Linked DNA regions of Homo sapiens: region 2 is linked to region 1. Evidence: promoter capture Hi-C in human tissues and cell types (Jung and others, 2019). All regions are on one chromosome and are shown on one strand. Each heading gives the region's core, a stretch centred on a gene start or on the middle of the fragment in contact. The rest is flanking DNA. Distances are from core to core; before and after follow the strand shown. Region 1 holds the start of EPPK1 (epiplakin 1). Region 2 overlaps ZNF623 (zinc finger protein 623).

Region 1 (6,619 bases), core at 1,070-3,569:
TCTCTGGGCCATGTGCCGTGGAGGGGACACCCTGCTCCCAGATGCTTTATGGAGCAATGGCGGGCACTCCCCTTCGAGCTGGGCCATGCCAGGCTCCAAGGGACCAATGGGGATCCTGGCCAAAGGCTCCAACCAGCACGGTGACTCCATGGAGCAGCCCAGGGGCAGCGTGGGCACTGGTCTTGGGGCTCTGGGACCTCCCTCCTTGGACCAGGTCTTCTGAGAGCCTCCCTGACCTGCAGGGGGAAGCTAGGTGCCAGTGCCAGGAGGAGGTGGGTAGAGCCGTGGGCAGTACTGGGCATGGGAGCCCTCTCGCTCACCTCCTGACACCCTCCCTGATGCCCTTCCTTGCTGTGTAGGTGGTATAGGCCCAGGCCTGGGGGCTGGAGGAGTGGCCTGTGGCTCCGGGGACTGCTGGGCTGAAGCACTGGACTGGAGCCCCTGGGGAGGTGGTGGCTCCCAGAAGCCCTGACTGGGAGTGGCCCAGGGACCTGGGGAGTAGGGCAGGCACCCAAGTCTGCCCCCAGAGGTGTCCCCAGAGGTCACTGGGCTGGGGGCCACCACAGGGCAGGGGATCTGGAGTCACAGGAAGACAAAGCCGAGGGAGAGGAGCCAGGGGACAGATGCCAGTGGGTGCAGCAGAGCAGGGCCAGCTCCATGCCACCTGCCTATACCAGGGGGGTGACGGGCAGAAATGGGTGCAGCGGAGCAGGGCCAGCTCCGTGCCACCTGCCTATACTGGAGGGGTGACGGGCAGAAATGGGTGCAGCGGAGCAGGGCCAGCTCTGTGCCACCTGCCTATACCGGAGGGGTGAGGAGCAGACAGGCATGTGGCCCGTCCCTGGGCACACAAGAAGGCTTGGTCTGGCCAGCCTAACACCCCCTTCTTGCAGCGAGGGGCTGGCATACACCCAGGTTTTGTGGCCTGGCAGGGGCGCTGCCTGCAATGGCTCACCGCAGGAAGAAGTGGCTCTGGGGTGTGCTCCAGGCCACAGGCCATAGCCAGCACCACCATGCCTCCCAGCAAGACCACACAGACAGTGTCCAGGCATCCGGTGAGCAGGGCTGGGGATGGATGCGGTTGGCCTGGCAGTGCCTTGGGGAAATGCGGGTTCCACCAGAGCTCCTCTGGGGTCAGGGCCCCGCAGTCGGCAGCAGCCATGCTGTGCGGCCAGTGTGGCAGGTGTGGACAGGGTCCAGGCAGCCTGGGTGAGCAGGTGTGAGTGTGGACCTGGTGGGTGGGTGAGAGCAGAGCCAGGGCAGTGGTCCCAAGCACCCTAACCCCTGAAGGCCTAACCTGTCCCTCCTGCACCTGCGTGGGCGCCTGCAATTACCCTCATGGTGTGCATTGGAGGTGGCTGGCTGGCTCTGGATGATTTTCTGGTCAAGAATGACTCAGGCAGAGGTGGGGGCTGGAGCTTGGGAGAAGGGGGCACTTGTGGGGGTGGGGAGCACCTGAGCCCTCAGGACCTCCAGGACTACGGGACAGAGGAGGAGGGGCCTTGGGGACAGAGGAGGAGGGGCTTTGGGCCCTGTACTTCCGTGGCCCTGCCCACCTGGGATATCGGGGCAGCCAAGGGGAGGGCCCTCCAGAAGATCCATGGAAGGTTCCCGTGCCAGGCTGAGGCTGCCCCCAGGCCAGCCCCCGAGGCTGTGAGCCTCCATGCCCAGTGTCTCTGGCATGCCCCAGCCTTGGAAGGTGGGTGCCAGGATGGGCTTCAGAGAGGGGACCAGGTACTCCCAGGGTGACAGGGAACATTCTCTGTGCCCAGGTGGAGGAGCCAGACCGGGGGGTGAGGCCTGGCACTGCTCCAGGCAGGACATCCCAGCTCTTACAACGTCATGGGGGCAGGGGGGCCTGCCAAGGAGAGCCTTGAAGACCCCTGGACCCAGCAGACACACGACGTGAAGCAGCGTCCCCAGGAAGCTGAGCAGACAAGGTGGGGTCGGGGCTGGAGGCAGGGACACCAGCCCGCACCGCATTAGTGGCTTGTGGGGATAGAAACCGCCGCTCTGGCCGGTCCGCGTTTCACTCCAAACTCCTTTCCCAAAAAAAAAAAGCTGTTCTGAAGGGCACAGGACGCCTCCGCGCCCGCCCTGCGTTCCTTCGCGGTGACTCCCTGCTGGGGACGAGGGGAGGGTCCCGGCTGCCCAGCCGCCGCCCCTTGCCCGGGGTGCAAGCGCCAGGCCCGGGCCGCGCGGGGTTTCCGGCACCTGCCCGCCCCGCCCCGCCCCGCGTCGGGGCCCCGACCTGGGCGCCGCCCTAGACGGGGGCGGGGCCTGTGGGGCTTGAAATGCGGGCGGAGCGGGCGCGCGGAGACACTGCGGACCGAGCGGCGAGCGGGCAGGTGCGGCGGGTGCGGCGGGTGCGGCGGGTGCGGCGGGTGCGGGCAGGTGCGGCGGGTGCGGGCAGGTGCGGCGGGTGCGGGTGCGGGCTCGGGGCCGGGCGGGGCGGCGGCCGCCGAAGGAAACCGGATCCCCGCTGGAGCCGCACGCCGAGGCCAGGGTAGGGGCGCGGCGGCCAGCGGGGTCTTGGGCTCTGGCCGGGCAGGTTTCCCGCCCTGGGCAATTTGAGCTCCGAGTCCGAAGTGGCGCCCCTGAGTCCCGGGCGCCGGTGAAGAGGAGGCGCCGGCCCCGAGCCCTCACGGGAGAGGCGGCCAGGGGCGGGGGTCTCGCAGGCCCAGCGGTTTTCCCTGCAGCGAGGACCGCCCGGGGCACGCTCTGCAGGGTGGGGAACGCCCAGGCCAGGAGGCAGCTAGGCCGACAAATTGAGAGGGGTGACTCCTGGCAACATTGCCGGGAGGGAGGCGTCACGGATCCGGGGAAGCTGCCTGCTGTTGGGTGAGCGGTCCCAGGGGTGGCCACTCCGGGTCAGGTAAGCGGTCACACGGTCGCCTGGAGACCCGTGGGAGGCAGAGGCAGGAAGGGCCCTGTTCATCACTTGGGCCCAGGGCTCTGCTTCCCTGCCCTGGGCCCCCGCTGCACTGTGCCAAGCTTGTTATTGGGGCCACTGATCTCTGATCATGGTGCAGGTTGCAGGTGGGTGGGGTCTTCCCACAAGGGCACACAGCCGGGCAGAAGCTAAGGCTGCTGCCTCCTGTGTGGGCCCAGGCAGCTGCCAGGGTCTGTCCTGACCTGACTCAGGCAGGCGGCTGCAGCCTCCCCAACCTTTGTCCCAGGCTGCGGTGGGGGCCTGCCGGGCAGTCTGGTGACAGACAGTGACCTCACCCAAGAGATGCAGACCCACCCTCCTCAGGAACGGCCCTCCACCACTTGGGGCCTGGGGGCCACCTGAAGTGGGGAATCCACAGGAGGGGCCCTTTGTGCCTCAGGCTCCGGGGAAATCTGCTCGGCCTCCTCCCCACCCCATCACCCTAACCCTGACCCCGTGCTCTCCTAGGCAGCAGCCACCTCCTCCAGATGCCCCCACACTCGAAGCTGCACCCCCTGCCCCCCCTCGCTCCGGACCCTCTGTCCAGCTGCCCTCCCAGGCCCCACATGGAGTCAAGACACCCACTCCCGGGCCTTCCTCCTGCCAAGCCTGGGAAGGGGCAGGGCCCAGGGAAGGGGCAGGGCCCAGAGGGGTTCATACCAGGCCCAAGGTCAGGAAGAGATAGGGAGTGGTGCAGCCAGCCACAGGCCGCATCTCACGCATGGTGCGGGGCATGCACTGGCAGGCACACTCACACACGCAGGGCAAGCCTGCCCCCGACTCCCTGCTCCCAAGCGCCCTGTCTCCAGCCTTCCTCCCTGGATCTCCTCTTTGTTTGGGGAACTTGAGCCACTTGCCTGAGCTTACGAGGCCCGCTTAGCACGCGGCCTGTCTGGGCTGGCGGCCTGTGCGCAGGTCAGGGGCCCGCCCAAGGTGCTGTCCCCACCCTCACTGGCCCTGCCCCGCCCTCGCTGGCCCTGCCCCACCCTGGCCCGCACTGCCCCTCCCCCTTGCTGGGAAATCAGGTGCTCCTCTCATTTCCTCACCGCCATCCCTGGCCGGATGTCAGGGGACAGGGCAGGGCCCTGACCCCCTAGAAGCCCCTCGTCTGGCCTGGATGCCATAGTGAGTGGCTGCCTTAGGCTCACAGATCCTGGAGGGTCCTGGAACGAGGCGTGCTGGAGAGGGCCCAGCCCTAGGGGAGGCAGGTGCCAGTAGAGGTGGACACAAAAGCGCCCAGGCTGGGTTCCCAGAAGCAGAGTCTGTCTGAGGCAGGGGTAACCGGGAGTGGTCTCAGGATGGCCTCAGGAAGGGAAGGGAGGAGGAAGCAGGTGGACGAAGGAGAAGCTGGCCTGTCCTGCCGTCTCATGTACCCCCCAGAAGCAGATCTGGACAGCCCCGTAGCCACCCCGGTCAGGCTGTGCCCTTGAGCCTGGCCTCTTCCTGGGGAAGTGCAGAAACAAGTTTTGCAGGGTGGACCTGGCCCCTGGGGCTGCCTCCCCGTCCTCCAGACTGGATGCCCTCAACCCGGGCGCGCCTGCTGGCTCAGGGCTTGTCAGGTGTGACCAGGTCCTCTTCCCTGAGGGTCCCCTCTAGGGCTGGGGGTGATGTTCTATTTACCATGAGAACCAGGCAGGGCACACCAGGTCCCTGCACCCTGTCTGCCCCTGTGGTGCCGCCTCCTGGTGCTCAGGCCTGTCCCCTGCCAGATGGGAGCCTCCTCCTGGCTGCTTGCTCCTGGGACATGATGGGCCTGGGAGCAGCATAGCCTTTGGCTTGGTGACACTAGCTGTGTCCCCTGGCAGAAGTGTTCCTACTCCAGGGACCAGGACATCTAAGCCCACCCGCCCCAGAGCTGTGGGGTCGAGGAGCCCAAGCTCCATCATAGGTCAGTGGGGGGTGGGGGGTGGGGGCCACTGTGCCAGGCCTTGGTTCCTGGGCCCCTGTGACCCACCTCCTGGGACACACGCACATGGGAAGCCACGTTCTGGAGTGGTATAGCCGACTTCCTGGAGAATGGTGCCCTAGCCTGCAAGGCGTCACTGGGGAGCTGGCACCCCGGCTGTGCCTTCAGGAAGTGATTCCTACATCCTGTCAGGCCAGCAGCTTTTGGCTGGGGCAGACTGTGATGTGGCCAGCGGGCCCGTGGCCCATTGCACCACGAAGACAAGCGCCCAGGCATCCCTGTGGCGCACCGGCCAGCTGGCCAGACGTCTGCAGCCTCTTGTGAGCTTTCTCCAATGCTGGTCGTTTACCAGCAGCCCTACTCCATGGTCCTCTGAATCCTCCACGTCTTCCCAGCCACCTGACACTGTGTCCTGAGCACGGTCCCTCGGGACAGCTGAGCTGCAATGCTGCTTCCTGGAGCCCTGGCTCTCTGCACTCGGCCAGTGAGGTGATGGTGAGCCCTCCTGGTCCCAGCTCCGTGTCTGAGGCTCTGAGCAGCCTGTCAGCAGCAGGATGCCTGGAGGAGGCCCGGGACCAGTATCTGCAGAAGGGAAGGGAGAGGGCCAGGGTTTTGCCAAGGTGGGTAGGTGGGCTGCAGTCTTAACAGGTGGTCCTGAGGGGCATCTACGAGCCTCGACAGCCCTCAGAGTTGCCCCTGGAGCATGCCCTTCGTGAGACCAGACATGGGGAGAGGGGATGGGGAGGACCCAGTGCCTTCTAGGGTTAGGCTCTGCATGTTCCAGAGCATGAGCAGCATGGGGTGCCTGTGAGACCTCCAGGAGGCAGCTGGGCACATGGTTTTGGGACCCAGGACAGGCTGGGCTCCTGCTGCAGATTTGGGGAGCTGAGGGTAGGTGGGAGGAGGTCTCAGAGTTAATGGGTGAACGAAGATGGAGCGGAACCCTGTCACTGGAGAGGGGAGCCCCCATAGCCCATGTGGTGGAGGTGGGTGGGGGCCAGCTCCAAAATGCATTTGTCGAGTTTGGCAGCCGGGGGTGGTGGCTGCCTCAAGAGCGGTGGAGTGGGGGTGGGGGTCAAACGTGGGATCCGACCCTTCTCCTGAGACCTTGTGTAGAGGTAGGGAAAGGTTGTCATGGACAGGCTGCTGAGCAGAGGGAGGTTCCAGCTGGAATGAGGGGGAGAATCAAGAGAGGGACTGGGGCCCGTAGTGCTGAGAAAACGGGGAGCAGACCCTGCTCCTGGGTGGGTGGGCACAGGGGTGCAGAACACTGACCAGGGGCCTAAAGAGCAGGAAATTGCTCTCACAGCTCTAGAGGCCAGAAGCCGGAAGGCGAGGAGTGGGCAGGGCCGCACTTCCTCCGGAGCTCGAGGGGAGGATCCTGCCTGCCTTTTCCAGCTTCTGGGGCCCCAGGCGTCCTGGGAATTCCTTGGCTTATAGATCCAATCTCTGCCTCTGTCGTCACACGGCCGCCCTCTCCCTGTGTGTCTTCTTATAAGGACACTAGTTATGTTGGATAACAGCCAATCCTAGCCCGGTATGACCTCACCTTAACTGGGTGATATCTGCAAAGATCCTATTTCCAAATAAGGTCACATTCACAGGGACTGTAGATTAGGACTTAGACATACGTTTTTAGGGACATAATTCAATCTGGTGCAGAAGGGGACAGGCCTGGGTGGAGGCAGTTGACGTGCAGGAGTGGTGGGGATGGAGGTGAGGCACCTGCTGCTCTGCTCAGGGCCAGTCGTACAGCTGTGTGTGGAAGGGGTTGGCGCAGG
Region 2 (6,619 bases), core at 1-2,500, 240 kb after region 1:
GTCTCGCCTCAAGAACCTTCTCTTTGGGGTTCTTGCTGGGCAGTGGGAGCCGGGCCACTGCGAAGATCAGTAATGTTGCCTTCCCATCCACTACTACTGTCTTCAATACCTCAAGGCCACTGCCAATATAATGAGGGAGGGGGGATCAGCCCAGCCCAGAAGCCAGTAAATAAAACTGGAGGTTCTGCTCGTTTAAAAACCAGAGCTGCACCAGGTACAGCGGCTCATGCCTGTAATCCCAACACTTTGGGAGGCTAAGGTGGGTGGATCACTTGAGGTCAGGAGTTCGAGACCAGCCTGGCTATGGTGAAACCTCATCTCTACTAAAAATACAAAAATTATCCAGGTGTGGTGGCATGCACCTGTAATCCCAGCTACTCGGGAGGCTGAGACAGGAGAATCACTTGAACCTGGGAGGCAGAGGTTGCAGTAAGCAGAGATCACAACACCGTACTCCAGCTTGGGTGACAAAGTGAGACTCCATCTCAAAAAATAAAAAACAAAAACCAAAACCAGAGCTGTGACGTGGGATGCACTGGCAGCAAGCAGCCCCAACAGTGAGGATATTTTCAAGGGAATTAGGTTGCTGGAGAAACTGCAAGCCTACCCTGCAGAAGTCTGTAGCTAGAGTGTTCTTAGCAACATTCTAACACCCTAAATATCTAGCAACAGAAGACTCACACAAACAATAATGCACAGAAAAAAAACTGCCACACATAAAAGCACAGGTGGACCTCACAACAGACGAAGTGCTGAGCAAAAGCAGCCAGGCACAAAAGAGCTCATATTGTACGACTCCATTTACATAAAGCTAGAAAACAGAGAGCCAATCCCTGGTGGAAGGATGTAAGCTGCAATGGTGTTCAGGAGACACTGTCACTGGCAGGGGCACATGGTGGTGCCCTGAGTCACACAGGTGCTCACTTTGGAAAAGCTGACTGGACCCGGAATTATGCGACCTCACGCAGGCACTGGGATGCTCTATCCAACCCCGCTGTGGAGGGCAATGCCCCAGCCTGCAGTCTGGGAATCCTCACTCTGGGAACTGCTTCCAAGAAGGGGACTCCACCCGCCCAGTGCCAAGCCCTCTCCCAGTTATCCACTGCTCCAAAAACAATTTACACAAACTCAGCAGCTTAAAGCAGCATGCATTTGTTACCCTACAGTTCTGCAGGTCACACATCCAGGCCAGGCCAGCTGGGATCTCCACGCAGGGTCACGCAAAGCTGCAACTGTATGTCATCGGGCTGAGCTCTCATCTGGAGGCCCTGGGGAAAACTGGTTTCCAAACTCATTCAGATTTCGTGGCAGAATCCAGTTCCCTGCAACTGTAGGACTAAGAACCCTGTGTGCTTACTGGCTGTGAGCAGGAGCCGCCCCTAGGGGCCACCTGAATCTCAAGGCAGGCACAGCACATCACATTTTTCTCACGCATCTAATCTCAGCCTCTGTTCTCCAACCAGATGGAGGAACCTCTGCTTCCCAGGGTCTGTGTGATTAGGTCAGGCTCTCCCAGACGACCTCCCTTCTCACCTCACTGACCTGGGACCTCCCGACATCTGCAAGTCTCTTCATGACAGTACCAGATGAGTGTCTGAATGAGTAACTGGAAGAAGGGGTGTGTACATTAGGGGCCAGGAATCTAAGAGACCACCTCAGAACTCTGCCCTCCACACCCATGCCAGGTGCCCGGCAGGTAACAGGAATCTAAAACTACTGTCACTGTTTGGGGCACCATGAACCGCACCCATATAAGAAGCTGAATTATCAATGTGTGTTTCCTACATCCACCACCAACCGGCTGTTCCCCATCTCTCCCTTTCCTCCAGCCTCCCCCTTCCCTGGATATAACAATATTGAGATTAGGCTAATTAGTAACCTTACCATGGCCTCTCACGTGAAAGGAGGAATCCCACATCTCTCACTTTAAACCAAAAGCTAGAAATGATTAAGCTTTGTGAGGAAGGCATGTCTAAAACTCAGTCAGAAAGCCGGGCCTCTTGCATCAAACGGCTGAGCGGCAATGCAAAGGAAAAGCCCCAGAAGGAAATTAAACGAGCTGCTCCAGTGAACACACAAATGACAGGATAGCAAGACAGCCTTATTGCTGATGTGGAAGAAGTCTGAGTGGTCTGGAGAGATTAAAACAACAACTTTGCCCGACAGCTGGTGTGACTGGCAACCAAAGCTGAATCCACAGCAAGGTCCTAACCGTCCTCAATTCTATGAAGGCCGAGACGGGTGAGGGAAGCTGCGGAAGAAAAGCAGAAAACCAGCAGAGGTTGGTTCATGAGGTTTAAGGAAAGAAGTCACTTCCACACATAGAAGTGCAAGGTGAAGCTGCAAGCTTTACGGGAGAAACTGAAGCAAGTTCTCCAGATCTAGCTAAGATGGTTGACTAAGGTGGCTACTCTAAAAAGATTTTCAGTGTGGATAAAACCGCTTTCTATTGGAAGAAGATGGCATCTAGGACTTTCGCAGCTAGAGAGAAGTCAATGCCTGGCTTCAAAGATTGAAAAGGACAGGCTGACTCTCGTTAGGGGCGAATGCAGCTGGTGACGTGAAGCCAATGGTCATTTCCCATTCCAAAAATTCTAGGACCCTTAAGAATGATGCTAAATCCACTCTGCCTGTGTTGGAAATGGAATAACAAAGCCTGGATGACAGTGCATCTGTTTACAGCATGGTTTATGGAGTATTTTAAGCTCACTAATGAGACCTACTGCTCAGAAAAAAAGATTCCTTTCAAAACACTACTCACGGCCGGGCGCGGTGGCTCACGCCTGTAATCCCAGCACTTTGGGAGGCCGAGGCGGGTGGATCACGAGGTCAGGAGATCGAGACCATCCCGGCTAAAACGGTGAAACCCCGTCTCTACTAAAAATACAAAAAAATAGCCGGGCGTAGTGGCGGGCGCCTGTAGTCCCAGCTACTTGGGAGGCTGAGGCAGGAGAATGGCGTGAACCCGGGAGGCGGAGCTTGCAGTGAGCCGAGATCCCGCCACTGCACTCCAGCCTGGGCGACAGAGCAAGACTCCGTCTCAAAAAAAAAAAAAAAGAAAAAAAAAAAAAAAAAAAAAAAAACACTACTCACTGACAATGCTCCTGGTCACCCAAGAGCTCTGATGGAGATGAACAGGGAGACTGATGTTCTTCTTTTGCCAACACAACGTGCATTCTGCAGCCCCTGGCTGGGAGTCACTCCAACTTTCAAGTCTTATTAAGAAATATGTTTCACAAGGCTGTAGGTGCCATAATGATTCCTCTGATGGATCTGGGCAAAGTCAGCCGAAAACCTTCTGGAAAGGAGTCATCATTATAGATGCCACGAAGAACATTCATGATTTATGGGAGGAGGTCAAAACATCAACATTTGGTATTTTGGAAAAACCTGATTCCAGCCCTCATGAATCTTTGAGGGGTTTGAGACTTCAGTGGAGGAAGCAACTATAGATGTGGTGAAAATAGCAAGAGAGCTAGATTTAGAAGTGTAGCCTAAAGATGTCACTGAATTGCTTCAATCTCGTGATCAAACTTGAATGGATGAGGTGCTGCTGCTTTTTTTTTTTTTTTTTTTTTTTTTTTAAAGACAGAGTTTCACTCTCGTTCCCCAGGCAGAGTGGAGTGGTGCAATCTCGGCTCACTGCAACCTCCACCTCCCGGGTTCAAGCAATTCTCCTGCCTCAGCCTCCTGAGTAGCTGGGATTACAGGAGTGCGCCACCACGCCCAGCTAATTTTTGTATTTTTAGTAGAGACGGGATTTGGCTATGTTGGCCAGGCTGGTCTCAAACTCCTGACCTCAGGTGATCCACCTGCCTCAGCCTCCCAAAGTGCTGGGATTACAGGCACGAGCCACCATGCCCGGCTGAGGTGTTGCTTCTTAGAGATGAGGAAAACAAGTACGCTTCTTGACATGGAATCTGCTCCTGGTGAAGATGCCGTGAACACTGTTGAAATGACAACAAAGGATTTTGAAGATTCCATAAACTTAGTTGATAAAACACAGGCAGGGTTTGAGAGGCTTGACTCTAATTTTGAAAGAAGTTCTACTTGGGTAAAATACTAGCGAACAGCTTTGCATGCTACAGAGAAATCTTTTGTGAAAGCAAGATTCCACTGATGTGACAAACTTCATCGTCCCATTTTAAGAAACTGCCAGTCACACCAACCTTCAGCAACCATCACCCTGATCAGTCAGCAGCCATCAAGAAAGGCAAGACCCTCCATCAGCAAAATGATTACAACTTAAGGCTCAGATGATCATCTTTTAGCAATAAAGTATCTTTAAATTATTTACATTTTTAGACATAATGCTATTGCATACTGAATAGTAACCACAGCATACCTAAACGTAACTTTTATATACACTGGGAAGCTAAGAAGTTTCTGTGACTTGCTTTGTTTTGCTATTCACTTTATTGCAGTGGTCTGGACCCACACTGGCACATCCCCATGTGTGGGATGAAAGGTCCACTGGACACTTGGGTAGCCAATGTGGTTCCCTAGCATTCCTGTTTCCTTCTTCCTTTAAGTGTTAGAAACCCCATCAAATTACTAATGACTGCCCCATAAATGACATTTCCTAGTGTCCCCTTAAGTTAGGTGAGTTTGTGACCAAGATGAGGCGAGAAGGGAAGTGATGTGTGCGTGCTGTCCACTCTCTCCCCTCCCCACAGTGCTGATGAGGCAGGGCAGCCAGAGTCCCTGGAGGCCAACCCTACCTTTAAGAGAGAATAAGACAACTCAAGTTTCTTATTTGAAACACCGTATTTGAATCTGTTACAGCAACTTTAACCTACGTCTTAAATAATGCTAATATACAACTCAAAATATTCAGATTCAATTCTCCCCATGATGATAAATTCAAACTGGGCCAGGTGCGGCGGCTCACACCTGTAATCACAGCACTTTGGGAGGCTGAGGCAGGTAGACTGCTTGAGCTCAGGACTTAGAGACCAGCCTGGTCAACATGGTGAAACACAGTCTGTATTTTAAAAAGACAGGCCAGATGCAGTGGCTCACGCCTGTAATCCCAACACTCTGGGAGGCCTAGGCAGGCACATCACCTGAGGTCAGGAGTTCGAGACCAGCCTGACCAACATGGAGAAACCCCCGTCTCTACTAAAAATACAAAATTAGCTGGGCATGGTGGCACATGCTTGTAATCCCAGCTACTTGGGAGGCGGAGACGGGAGAATGACTGGAACCCAGGAGGCGGAGGTGGAGGCTGCAGTGAGCTGAGATCACGCCATTGCACTCCAGCCTGGGCAACAAGAGCGAAACTCCATCTCAAAAATAAATAAATAAAAATAAAAATAAATTAAAAAGGGGGTGGGCCGGACATGGTGGCTCATGCCTGTAATCCCAGCACTTTGGGAGGCCGAGGCAGGCAGATCACCTGAGGTCAGGAGTTCGAGACCAGCCTGGCCAACATGGTAAAACCCCATCTCTACTAAAAATACAAAATTAGCCAGGTGTGGTGGCACACGCCTGTAATCCCAGCTTCTCGAGAGGCTGAGGCAGGAGAATCTCTTGAACCTGGGCGGCAGAGGGTGGAATGAGCTGAGATCGCGCCATTGCACTCCAGCCTGGGCAACAAGAGCAAACCTCTATCTCAAAAAAAAGAAGTGGGAGAACGGTGGGGTGGAGATGTTGGTTTCTTGTTTTGGAACTCAGTTGATACCTTCTGATTTTAAATTTTAAAATGGCTGTTATACTACCTGGAAACAAGCTGTTTATTTTTTTTTATTTGATATATATATATATTTTTTGAGACAGAGTCTCACTCTGTCGCCCAGGCTGGAGTGCAGTGACACAATTTCGGCTCACTGCAATCTCCACCTCCCTGCAATCTCTGTCTCGTGGGTTCAAGCGATTCTCCTGCCTCAGCCTCCCAAGTAGCTGGGATTATGGGCGCCTGCCACCACGCCCGGCTAATTTTTTTGCATTTTTAGTACAGATGGGGTTTCACTTTGTTACCCAGGCTGGTCTCAAACTCCTGACCTCAGGTGATCCACCCACCTCGGCCTCCCAAAGTGCTGGGATTGGATTACAAGTGTGAGCCACCACGGCCGGCCAGAAACAGGGTGTTTCTGTTTACAAGAACATATCTTAAAACCATATGTGTGCCTCTTAATAATTTTCATAATTTTTTTAACTTTTGAGAAAGTTTTTTTTTTTTTTTTAAGACGGAATCTCACTCTGTCGCCCAGGCTGGAGTGCAATGGCATGGTCTCCACTCACTGCAACCTCCACCTCCCAGGTTCAAGTGATTCTCCTGCCTCAGCCTCCTGACTAGCTGGGATTACAGGGGCGTGCCACCACACCTGGCTAACTTTTGTACTTTTAGTAGAGATGGGGTTTCACCATGTTGGTCAGGCTGGTCTCGAACTCTTGACCTCATGATCTGCCCGCCTCTAGAGAAAGTTTTTAAAATTGCAAATATCTTGCTTTGAAGAAACAGTTATCTCAAAAAGGAAATAGCTATCTTCAGTTTTTGCTTAACTTTTTCTTGTATGAATTTAAGTAAAATTAAATCAATACATTTTCATTTAAAGAAACTGACATGAAATGCAAAAAAAAGGAAGCCACCTGACTTGTGGCTCCACACAACAAACTG

The links. The method cuts DNA at HindIII sites, captures the fragments that hold promoters and counts their contacts. A contact is called where the count stands out against the background at its distance.
Region 2: a fragment that was not itself captured here is called in contact with the fragment with the promoter of EPPK1 in region 1 in 6 of the 25 tissues and cell types used here (IMR-90 fibroblasts, dorsolateral prefrontal cortex, hippocampus and 3 more).

Annotation. Positions count from the first base shown.
Region 1 is chr8:143,874,167-143,880,785 of GRCh38, reverse strand. EPPK1 (epiplakin 1) reads left to right here and starts at 2,319. Exons shown (of 2, transcript NM_031308.4): 1 at 2,319-2,348. RefSeq lists enhancers at 967-1,609, 4,829-5,471, 6,182-6,619 and a silencer at 2,176-2,265. The HindIII fragment of the contact is 27,880 bases long and covers 1-6,619 here.
Region 2 is chr8:143,637,907-143,644,525 of GRCh38, reverse strand. All of the region lies in intron 1 of ZNF623 (zinc finger protein 623), which reads right to left. Among named protein-coding and RNA genes, the nearest start is that of ZNF623, 5.2 kb to the right of the region's middle. The HindIII fragment of the contact is 7,039 bases long and covers 1-4,769 here.